Linked DNA regions of Homo sapiens: region 1 is linked to region 2. Evidence: promoter capture Hi-C in 16 types of primary human blood cells and fetal thymus (Javierre and others, 2016). All regions are on one chromosome and are shown on one strand. Each heading gives the region's core, a stretch centred on a gene start or on the middle of the fragment in contact. The rest is flanking DNA. Distances are from core to core; before and after follow the strand shown. Region 1 overlaps SPATS1 (spermatogenesis associated serine rich 1). Region 2 holds the start of TMEM151B (transmembrane protein 151B).

Region 1 (5,255 bases), core at 2,406-4,905, 77 kb after region 2:
TCCACCCAGCTATTAATATAAGCTAGGACCGTAGAGAAGGAGGAGCTGGAGGAGTTAGAGCTATTAATTGTCCAAGTGTGTCTGCAACAGCAAGGAGAAAAGGGTTCTGGGATTCTAACTTTAAGCTCCAGACCTTCCTGCAGTTTCCAGTTTGGGGTAAAGGAAGAAGCTGCTGTTTTAAGGATGTCCTAGGGAGGATCCATGTTTTCGAGTTAGGGGTAGCAGAAGGGTACCAGGTCCCAGACCACATTAATGAAAGACCCATGGTGTCCTTTCCTGCTGTGTAGGTGAGTCTATTCAGGAGAATACATCTGAGTTTAGCTTAACATGGAGTCTATGGATTTCAGCAAGGAAGGGGCTCCACAAACCAATTGAAGATACGTGTGTGTGTGTGTGTGTGTGTGTGTGTGTGTGCATTTTTCCATCAGAGAACCGATTGCTTTCATTACTGCTCATGGGGGAGAGGATAGAATCAAAAAACGGGTTAAAAACTTCTGTCCTTGATCCTTAGGCCCCTTGTGAAGCAGATAAGCAGGGGTGGGAAATAGTGTTTGGTTAAATGAGTATCCATGTTAAACAAACATGGCTTGATGTATTATTTTTCTCCCTGCCAGACAGAGCTATTATGACAATCAGCTGAGATGACAAACATATGAAAGTGCTTTGGTTATGTAAGGTGTTATTCCTGCCTAAAAAAATGGAAATAATTATCCTGAATTCCACAGATGGCAATAAAGAAACAGACTTTCTTCCAAATTCTCTTTTTTCCCTTGAATTCCTTTCTGGTTACCAGAACCTTCTCTTGGCCTTTAATTACATCATTTCTTCTTAATTTTGCAGTGTTTTAGAAACTTGTTAGAATTTTCTGACTTCTGGCTTACTTGACATTTATTGCGCTTGAATAACAATTTTCATGATAAATGGTGAAACTTTCAAGCAGGGTGTATCTCCTTAGTGTGTTTGTCTCCCCACAGCCTTCTGAGCTAGATGGGGGAGAGGGCAGCCACTGGGAGCTGGGCGTGGAGAAGTAATTGACTTGCTCAGAGTAGCTGGATGGTACTCTATGCAGTGGGAGCATCAGTATTAGTATTAGCGTCAGTATTAGTAAGTGTTCAGGCTTGCAATTCCAGCTTCTCTTCCAGCTAATCTTCTTTTACCAGGGGAGGGGCGGGGAGGCATCTTGAGAACATGTTTAAGTGTCTCCAGCTCAAGTTTGAGGTTGAGTTACTCTCAGGAAGATGCCGTAGTCAGCTTGATCTAGAGAGTGTGCTGTTTGCCAGTTTAGCAAGAGATTGCTCTTCCCATCCTTGTCCATCAGACAAGCTTTCCCCATTATAGTGGCCACAGGCCACTTTCTAGAGTGCTGCTGCCACAAAACTTTTCAAGCAAGCAAGGAAGTGTGCTAAAGTTTTAGGTGTGTTTCACTGCTCGCTGCTTAGGGAAATGCAGTACATTTACATTTTGTTCCTAACACAAACAAAAAGCTTGGGAAAGGACCCTCTCTGATACCATCCATAGAGCCAACCAATTCTTGCTTGGGTGAACTCTCAAGTCCTATAGTGGCAATATACAACTAAAATGTTTACATGCTATGAAAGGCAGCCACTGTTAAAACCTATGGCCAAAAATTACCATAAGTAAATCTTACTGTAAATACCTCAGAACTCACATGCAATTATTGACATAGAGGACATCTTTGGCCTTGATTTCATTTCATTCACATATGTGAATCCATTCTACATCTCCAAACATGCATTTCATGGCTTTTTCATAGATACATTTCTAGATGTAGAACTATTGAGTCAAATGACATGCACTTCTCATAGGCTTCGGAAGTCACATATGGCCAAATTGCTCTTCAGTAAGATGGGGACATTCCCACCAGCAATGATAGGAATGCCATTCCTCCAAGCTGTGCCAAACACCTGGGTGTTTGCAAACGGATAACAAATAATGGCATCTCATTTTAAATTCGGTTCTTCAATTATTTGGATGGGGCCACGTACAGTGTCTCATGCCTGTAATCCCAGCACTTTTGAGGTGGGTGGATCACTTGAGCTCAGGAGTTTGAGAGCAGCCTGGGCAACATGGTGAGACCCCATCTCTACAAAAAATACAACAACAACAAAAAAATAGCTGGACATGCTGGTGTGTGCCCATGGTCCCAGCTACTTGGGAGGCTGGGGTGGGAGCATCACTTGAGTCCTAGGGGCAGAGGTTGCAGTGAACCGAGATCACTCCAGCCTGGGTGACAGAACAAGACCCTGTCTCAAAAAAAAAAACAAACCCACAAAATAACCACCCACTCCCCCAAACCCAATTATTAGGATGGATGAAATTTCCCCCAAATACATATTGGCTATATGTATGTGTTATTTTATTTTATCTTATTCTGAGATGGGGTCTCACTCTGTCACCCAGGTTGGAGTGCAGTGGTATGATCAGGGCTCACTGCAGACTCGACCTCTCCAGCTCAAGCAGTCCTCATGTCAGCCTCTCAAGTAGCTGGGACCACAGGTGTGCAACACCACGCCCAGCTAACTTTTTAGTTTTTTGTAGAGACCAGGTCTCCATATGTTGCCTAGGCTGGTCTTGAACTCCTAGCTTCAAGCAGTCTACCTGCCGCAGCCTCCCGAAGTGCTGAGATTGCAGGCATAAGCCACCTTGTCCAGCCTGTTTTTAAAAATAAGTTACCTGATCACATCTTTTGCCCTTTTTTTTTCTTTTTGGATATTTATTTTCATCTTATAAATTTATAAAAGCTCAAGGAGTGTAAATTAGTTCAACCATTGTGGAAGACAGTGTGGCAATTCCTCAAGGATCTAGAACTAGAAATACCATTTGACCCAGCAATCCCATTACTGGGTATGTACCCAAAGGATTATAAATCATTCTACTGTAAAGACACATGTACACGTATGTTTATTGCGGCACTGTTCACATAGCAAAGACTTGGAACCAACCCAAATGTCCATCAATGATAGACTGGATAGAGAAAACGTGGCACATATACACCATGGAATACTATGCAGCCATAAAAAAGGATGAGTTCATGTCCTTTGCAGGGACATAGATGAAGCTGGAAACCCTCATTCTCACCAAACTAACGCAAAAATGGAAAACCAAACACTGCATGTTCTTACTTATAAGTGGGAGTTGAACAATGAGAACACATGGACACAGGGAGGGGAATATCACACACTGGGGCCTGTCGTGGGGTTGGGGGAGGGGAGAAGGATAGCATTAGGAGAAATACCTAATGTAGACGACGGGTTGATGGGTGCAGCAAACTACCGTGGCATGTGTATAACTATGTAACAAACCTGTACGTTTTACACATGTACCTCAGAACTTAAAGTATAAAAAAAAAGCTCATAATTTGTCATGACTACTCACTCTTTTTTCTTTCTATCATGTTGTTATAGATTTTCCCCCAGTTTATAGTTTGCTATGAAAGTTTTAAGTTTATATTTAAAGAGGCATATTCAAATCTATGCCTCTTTTCCTTTATTTTGCCTGTATTTGGTATCTTCTTGGCAATAACTTCTTCACTCTAAGATTATATAAACTTTCACTTACTTTTTTCGGGTACATCTTTAATTTCAATTTTTACATTCAAATCTGTGAGTCATCTGGATTTTCCAGTTTGGGATAAGAAAGGATTAATTTTATTTTTATTCCAAATGGTTAATTAGTTGTTCCAGCAATATTTTTTGAATAACCCATCCTTTCTTCACCAAGATAAAATGCCACTTGTTTTCATATACAATTTTATTCTATTTATGTTTACTATTTTGTTCTATTGATTTGTCTGTTAGGGTTTTTGTCAGTACTGTCTTGATTATTTGAACATTAGACTACATTTTATAAATTATACTCCATGGCTATGTAACCCTGAACAAGTTATTTGACATTTCTGGAGCTTAATTTCTTTATCTGTAAATTTATCTCTATTTTATTTATAATTATGGCCTTGTTTCATTTCTATTATTATTATTATTTTTGTTTTTTTTTTGGGATGGAGTCTCACTCTGTTGCTCAGGCTGTAGTGCAGTGTGGCATGATCTCAGGTCACTGTAACCCCCGCCTCCTGGGATCAAGCGATTCTCCTGCCTCAGCCTCCTGAGTAACGGGGATTACAGGCGTGCACCACCATGCCCGGCTGATTTTTGTATTTTTGGTAGAGACGGAGTTTCACCATGTTGGGCCAGGCAGTCTTGAACTCCTGACCTCAGGTGATCCACCTGCCTTGGCCTCCCAAAGTGCTGGGATTACAGTCCAGGCTCTAATATTATTTATTTGTGTTTAAAATTTTTTCTTGAACCTTGTTTATCTGCATTATCAGCTTTTGCATGAAGCCATAGTTCTGATAATCTTTATTTCATTCATTTCTGCTTTTATGATTTTATTCCTTAAAATCTTTTCGGGGGGAGAGGGGTTACTCTTTTTTTTTTCTTATTTCTTAAATTGACAACTTGGCTCATTCATTTTGGAATTTTTGATTTTGAACACTATAATCCATCAATTCTTGGATAGACAGTTTGCATCTTTGAAGTAGGGACTGGATGTTACCAGGTCTGTGGGCCCAGCAGCAGGTAGGATGTAGTTGTAATAATTTTTGCTGTATGAGCACTGAAGCATGTAGAACGTGTGTTCATAGCTTGGAAAAAACTCCAGAGACAGTAGAGAAGCACTTTTGCGCGGTGGCTCACGCCTGTAATACCAGCACTTTGGGAGGCCAAGGCAGGCAGATCATGAGGTCAGGAGTTCGAGACCAGCCTGGCTAAGAGACCAGCCTGGCCAATATGTTGAAACCTCATCTCTACTAAAAATACAAAAATTGGTCCTGGCGCCACTGCGCCTGTAATCCCAGCACTTTGGGAGGCTGAGATGGGTGGGTGACCTGAGGTGTGGCGTTTGAGACCAGCTTGGCCAACATGGTGAAACCCCGTCTCTACTAAAAATACAAAAATTAGCCAGGCATGATGGTGGGCACCTGTAATCCCAGCTACTCGGGAGGCTGAGACAGGAGAATCGCTTGAACCCAAGAGGCGGAGGTTGCAGTGAGCTGAGATTGCACTACTGCACTCCAGCCGGGGGGACAGAGCGAGACTCTGTCTCCAAGAAATGAATAAATAAATAAGCTGGGTGTGGTGGCATGCACCTGTAATCCCAGCTACTCGGGAGGCTGAGGCAGGAGAATTGCTTGAACCCTGGAGTTGGAGGTTGCAGTGAGCCGAGATTATGCCATTGCA
Region 2 (5,087 bases), core at 1,698-4,197:
TAATAAACTCCAGACCCAGACCAACTGGGTTCAAAATTTGGCCGAGCGCGGTGGCTCACGCCTGTAATCACGCCTATAAACTTTGAGAGGCTGAGGTGGGTGGATCATTTGAGGTCAGGAGTTCAAGACTGGCCTGGCCAACATGGCGAAACCTCATCTCTACTAAAAATACAAAAAGTAGCTGGGCCTGGTGGCACATGCCTGTAATTAATCCCAGCTACTTGGGAGGCTGAGGCAGGAGAATCACTTGAGGGTGGAGGTTGCAGTGAGCTGAGATCACACCACTGCACTCCAGCCTGGGCAACAGAGTGAGACTCAGTCTAAAAACAAAAACAAAAACAAAAAAATCCACACGAAATCTGACACTATCATCCCCATTTTAATGTTGGGAAACTGAGGCCCAGAGAGGTGAGTTGACTTGCTCAAGTTAAAATAGAAAGTGCAGAGATGGCTTCTCATCTAATCCAAAACTTTTACATATTTTTTAGTGGAACCTTCTTTTCTTTATCAAGAGGTAAACCACATAGGGTGGGAGTGTCTGAGCCCTCTGCAAGGATGTAAGAACTCAGGAGTGTGCAAGGACCTCCTTTTTATTCATACAGAGGCTGAATTTTAGGAAAAACCCACTTAACCCAGCCAGGTGTTTGGCTCTGAGCCGTAACAGGTGTGTGGCAGTCCCTTTTATGGCCACATGAGGTCAGCATTGAGTCACCCACTGGCCCCACTACCAGAGCTTGCACTCTTGACAGGAATCCTTTCCAACACTCCAGGAATGGGGAGGGGGACCATTGCAGTGTTATCTGAAAGGGTGACCTGGGGACTTTGACTTAGGCCACAGCATGGCTAGGGACCTGACCTCGCCTCCTCAGCTCCAGTCTTCTCTGAGGCTGGGCCCCTCGTCTTTCTCTCTGTTGTTTTCTGGTTCCCTTTGTGCCCCCACTCCCCACCTCCACCCACCCCAGCTAGGCTCATCTTCAGGAAACAGGCCTGGTTTCCATGGTGACCAGCCGGTCAGCTGGCTCCTTCCACCGCCCCCTCCTTCACCCCCCTTTCTTGTAGCTTCCAGGGAAGGGTACTGTGTGTGAATGGAGAAGGCAGGGGTAGCCTTTTGTCTCTTGGGAGCTCTAGCATTGGCCAAAAAGAGCTAAACTGTCCCTCCTCCAAAGCCCTTTGAAGTGGAGACAGGAAGGCAGTGGGGGTGGGTGTCAAGAGGAAGATTATGGTGCCTAAATGGGGAGCACGAAAGGATCCTCTGTGGGTTTGGAAAGGCCAAGGTTAGGGGCTCTGCTCTCTGTGGGGGAAGGGGTTGAAACTGGAACAAGAGGGGCTGGAGTTAGCTGTGAGGCCAGCTTCCCAAAAAGCATGGGCAGGAGATGCTGGAATGAACCACCAAGTGAGATTCTGCCTCTGCCAAGGGAGTGAACCAGACCCCCGCCTCTTCTGGACAGCCGCCTTCCTCTGGGCAGGGAGAATGGACCCATCAACCTGGAGAGGACCATGCAGGCTGGATAGCTCTAAGCAATAGGTGGACAGAGAGCCACCTTCACCTCACCTGGAAAGGGAAGAGTAGTAAAATGAAGGCAGGGCCAGGAGTGGGACTAGAGGGGTGGGAGCAGTGGCTCTCCTGTCCCCAACAAGGGGAAGGAACATCCTGGGCAGATCAGTGTGTTTGTACCCTATCCCCCAAAATCAGACATCGAGGCTTTGCCCCAAACTAACTTCCTACCCACAAATATTCCCCATAGATTTTGAGTGGGAAAGATCTGAATTCTAGGACTAGCTCTGTGAGTGCTAGCAGGTGACCTTGAGTAAGCCATTCACTCTCCCTCTGCCTTGGTTCCCTGTGAGTAATTGGGGAGAACAGTTACTGTATGTCAAAGACTCTAATGACACATAGTAGGATTCCACAGTGACTGTGTATGCACAAGATTGATCATGCATGGCTTTTATTATATTCTTCATAATGGTTGTTTTTCATGTTCTTTTCTCCCCATTAGACTTTGTGCTCCTTGCAGGAAGGAAACTGTGTTTCATTTCTGTACTGGGCACACAATAGGTACCCAACACCTGTTTACTGAATGGAGACATCCAGAAATGAATGAATGAATAAATGTCAGGGTCCTTCCTGCTGTGCCAGGGGATACAGGGAAAAGCAGTGTGGGGTGGATGGCCTGAAAGGATAGGCTGCCTGCAGTGGCTCAGCCTGGCTTGCTTCCTACACCTACAAGTCAGAGCCTTAGAAATTGTCCAGTCAACTTCCTCACTGCACAGATGAAGAAATTAAGGCTCAGAGACAGGAAGGCACTTGCCCAAGGTCACATAACTCCTTAATGACAGATACAGAATTCAGAATTAGAACTCAGGTTTCCTGCCCTCCAGCCTAGGGTATTGCACACACTTCACTGCTTCTCTGGAGCTGTTCTTTTAGGGAAGAAAGATGGTTCAGTGAAGGCCGGTTCCAATGCCCTCCCCTCTGCCCTCTGTTAGTCCTTTCCCACATCTAGCTTCAATCTCTTCCCTTTCCCCCTATTCCATTCCTCTGGAAGTCTAGCTTCTGCCTTAACCCTTCACCACGAAACTGGGAGTAAGGATCTTCCCTAGGGTTCCAAGAATCAATTTCCTCTCCCCACTCCTCTGCCCTGGGAACTTGGGGGAACCAGAGATGTGTGTGTGTGTGGGGGGGTGCTGTTGGTTGAACCTCGGGCACCGAGTCCACGGAGAACAGATGGAGAGGGGTTGCGGCACAGATTCTCCCAGGATAGGAGCGCGGGAGGGAGGTGCAGTGAGCAGGGCTGGGAGCGGGGAAGAGGTGTGGGGAGTCCCTGTTGCTTTACCCCTTCGGGGGGTGGTTATTAGGTAGGCTTGGGAAGGCGGAGTTTGGGGGGCTGGGGGCGGGGCTCGGCTGCGCTGGCAGGAAAGGGGGGGCGCGCTGGCTCCAGCTCGGCTCAGACAAAAGGCGGCGGCGGGAGCGGGCGGGAGGCGGAGCGGCGCCGCGAGGGCCTCAAGGTGACACCCGCCCCCGGCCCCGGCCCCCCCCGGCCCGGCCCCCCAGCCTGCCTCCCACCCTCAGCCCCCAGCCCCTTACTCCCGGTGCCCTTTCCGGGCCCCCTCCCCCGGCGGGGGGTGGGGAGCAGCGAGGGCCCCGCCCCCTCCCGTCCTCTCCCCAGGGCCCGCGCAGGATGCCCCCGGCCCCTGGCAGCCCCCCGGGAGGTCCTGAGCTCGACGCGCCCCCTCTACGCCATGTCCCCCCCTGGCTCGGCCGCGGGAGAGAGCGCCGCCGGCGGCGGCGGCGGCGGTGGCGGCCCCGGGGTCTCGGAGGAGCTCACGGCGGCGGCGGCAGCGGCGGCGGCGGACGAGGGCCCCGCCCGAGAGGAGGTGAGAGTCTAGGGCGCCCCTTCCCCGGGCGCGGCCGCAGCCTGGCCCCCCATCCCCCATCGCACGCGTCCCCCGCTGGTTCCGCCGCAGCGCGGCCGGCGCCCCGCACCCCGAGCCGGCCGCTGCAGCCGCAGTCCGCGCCGCCGCCCCCACCCGGCGGCCGGAGCTGTCCGCGGTGCCGGGGAAGGGGCCGCGCCGGGGGCGGGGCTCAGGGGTCCCGGGCAGGGGGAGGGGCCTAGGGGCGGAGCCTCGCGGATCCTGGGCTTATGAGAGTGGGGGCTATGCTCTACCGGGGTGGGGACGGTGGCGGGGATCCTGTCTCACAGAGGAGGATGCTACCTTGAAGGCCAGGAAGGGCGGCTTGTACGGGCTACAGAACGAGGAGGGTACCATGGGGAAGTGGTGGTGGTACCTGATCTGGGACCCTAAGGAGGTCAGATGTGTACGGGGGGTCCCGCCTGTGGTCATTGGGAGTGTGTGTGTGTGTGTGTGGGGGGGGGTGTGCACCTCTCTCTCACGAGGCTCCTGCTGCTTCCTCATATCCCTAGTTGGGGTCCCTAGTACTCAGTCCTCTGAACCTGAAGACAAAGAGACGGAGGAAAGTACCAGGAGCACCCCCACTCCAGCCTCCCATGCACACTTGTGCACACGCATGCACCCTGTACTAGGGCAGAGGCACACAAGCGGGGATGGGCCTGCAGGTAAAGCCCCTTTCAGAGGTACCCACATGGGGACAAGCACATAACCAGGTAGGCACACGAAGGGGCCCGTATGTTCATACCTCCTAAGGACAAGGCTCCCCGAAAGGCACATGTACCCTAATCTCCTTGTCCACATGTACTGTGTGCTATTTCCTAGCTCGCCTAACTATCCATACTTCTAGATCCAGGGACCGATGCCTATTACTGTACCCTTCTTTTCCACTCTTTTCCTCTCTTTCCTGGCTGGCCTCTAGGTCAGGCCTGAGGAATTGAGGGGGTAAGTCAGGATCCCAGCAGGAGGTTGTGTGTGTGTGTGTGTGTGTGTGTGTGGTGGGGGATGGGTTCCTAAAGCTAGACAGCACAGAGGAGGGGTGGGAAAACAGAGGCCACTACAAGAAATTAAACTCAACACTCAATTAGGATGTGGCTGCTGGGGGCCAGCACCATGGTAGGCACCTAGGATGCAAAGAGAATGAAGCATGGGCCCTCAGGAGTACCCAGTGTAGTGGGGAGCCAGACATGTAAACAACTCCTGGGCCAACCCTGGGACAGAATGTGCCAGGAGCTTTAACAGACAGGCTCCAGGAGAGTACCAAAAATAATTTTCTCTTGATAAATTGCTGGGCTTCAAACGTTGTCCTCGCTACCCCAGTCCCACATCCCCTATGCCTGTCCTCTCCTCAGCCACATGCCTCTGCCCTTCTGGATACCTCCTCCTGGACTGCCTGCCGCTCAGGGACCCCAGCCCCCTCCCTCCCATCCTAGGACAAAGGGAAGGATGTCAGGGTGCAGGAGGGAGACTCACAGGGGAACCAGGGTCCAGAACATGGGGAATGAGACTGGGCCTGGGGTTCTCTGGAGGCCCTTATCCAAAGGACGTGTTAGGCTAATTGTGAGGGTTAGGGAGGTGGATGGGTCAGAGGGGAGTAGCTCCTCTAGAACCTAGGACTGAAAAAAATCTGGAAGTGAGGGCCCCACTTGTTAAGTGGGGAAGTGATGTCAGTGGGTCCC

The links. The method cuts DNA at HindIII sites, captures the fragments that hold promoters and counts their contacts. A CHiCAGO score of 5 or more calls a contact.
Region 1: a contact is called between a fragment that was not itself captured here and the fragment with the promoter of TMEM151B in region 2, in 1 of 17 cell types (M2 macrophages). The highest score is 5.1, in M2 macrophages.

Annotation. Positions count from the first base shown.
Region 1 is chr6:44,344,010-44,349,264 of GRCh38, forward strand. All of the region lies in intron 2 of SPATS1 (spermatogenesis associated serine rich 1), which reads left to right. Among named protein-coding and RNA genes, the nearest start is that of SPATS1, 4.0 kb to the left of the region's middle. The HindIII fragment of the contact is 4,347 bases long and covers 1,483-5,255 here.
Region 2 is chr6:44,267,503-44,272,589 of GRCh38, forward strand. It overlaps TMEM151B (transmembrane protein 151B), which reads left to right and starts at 2,948. Exons shown (of 3, transcript NM_001137560.2): 1 at 2,948-3,375. The coding sequence starts at 3,241. The HindIII fragment of the contact is 13,529 bases long and covers 1-5,087 here.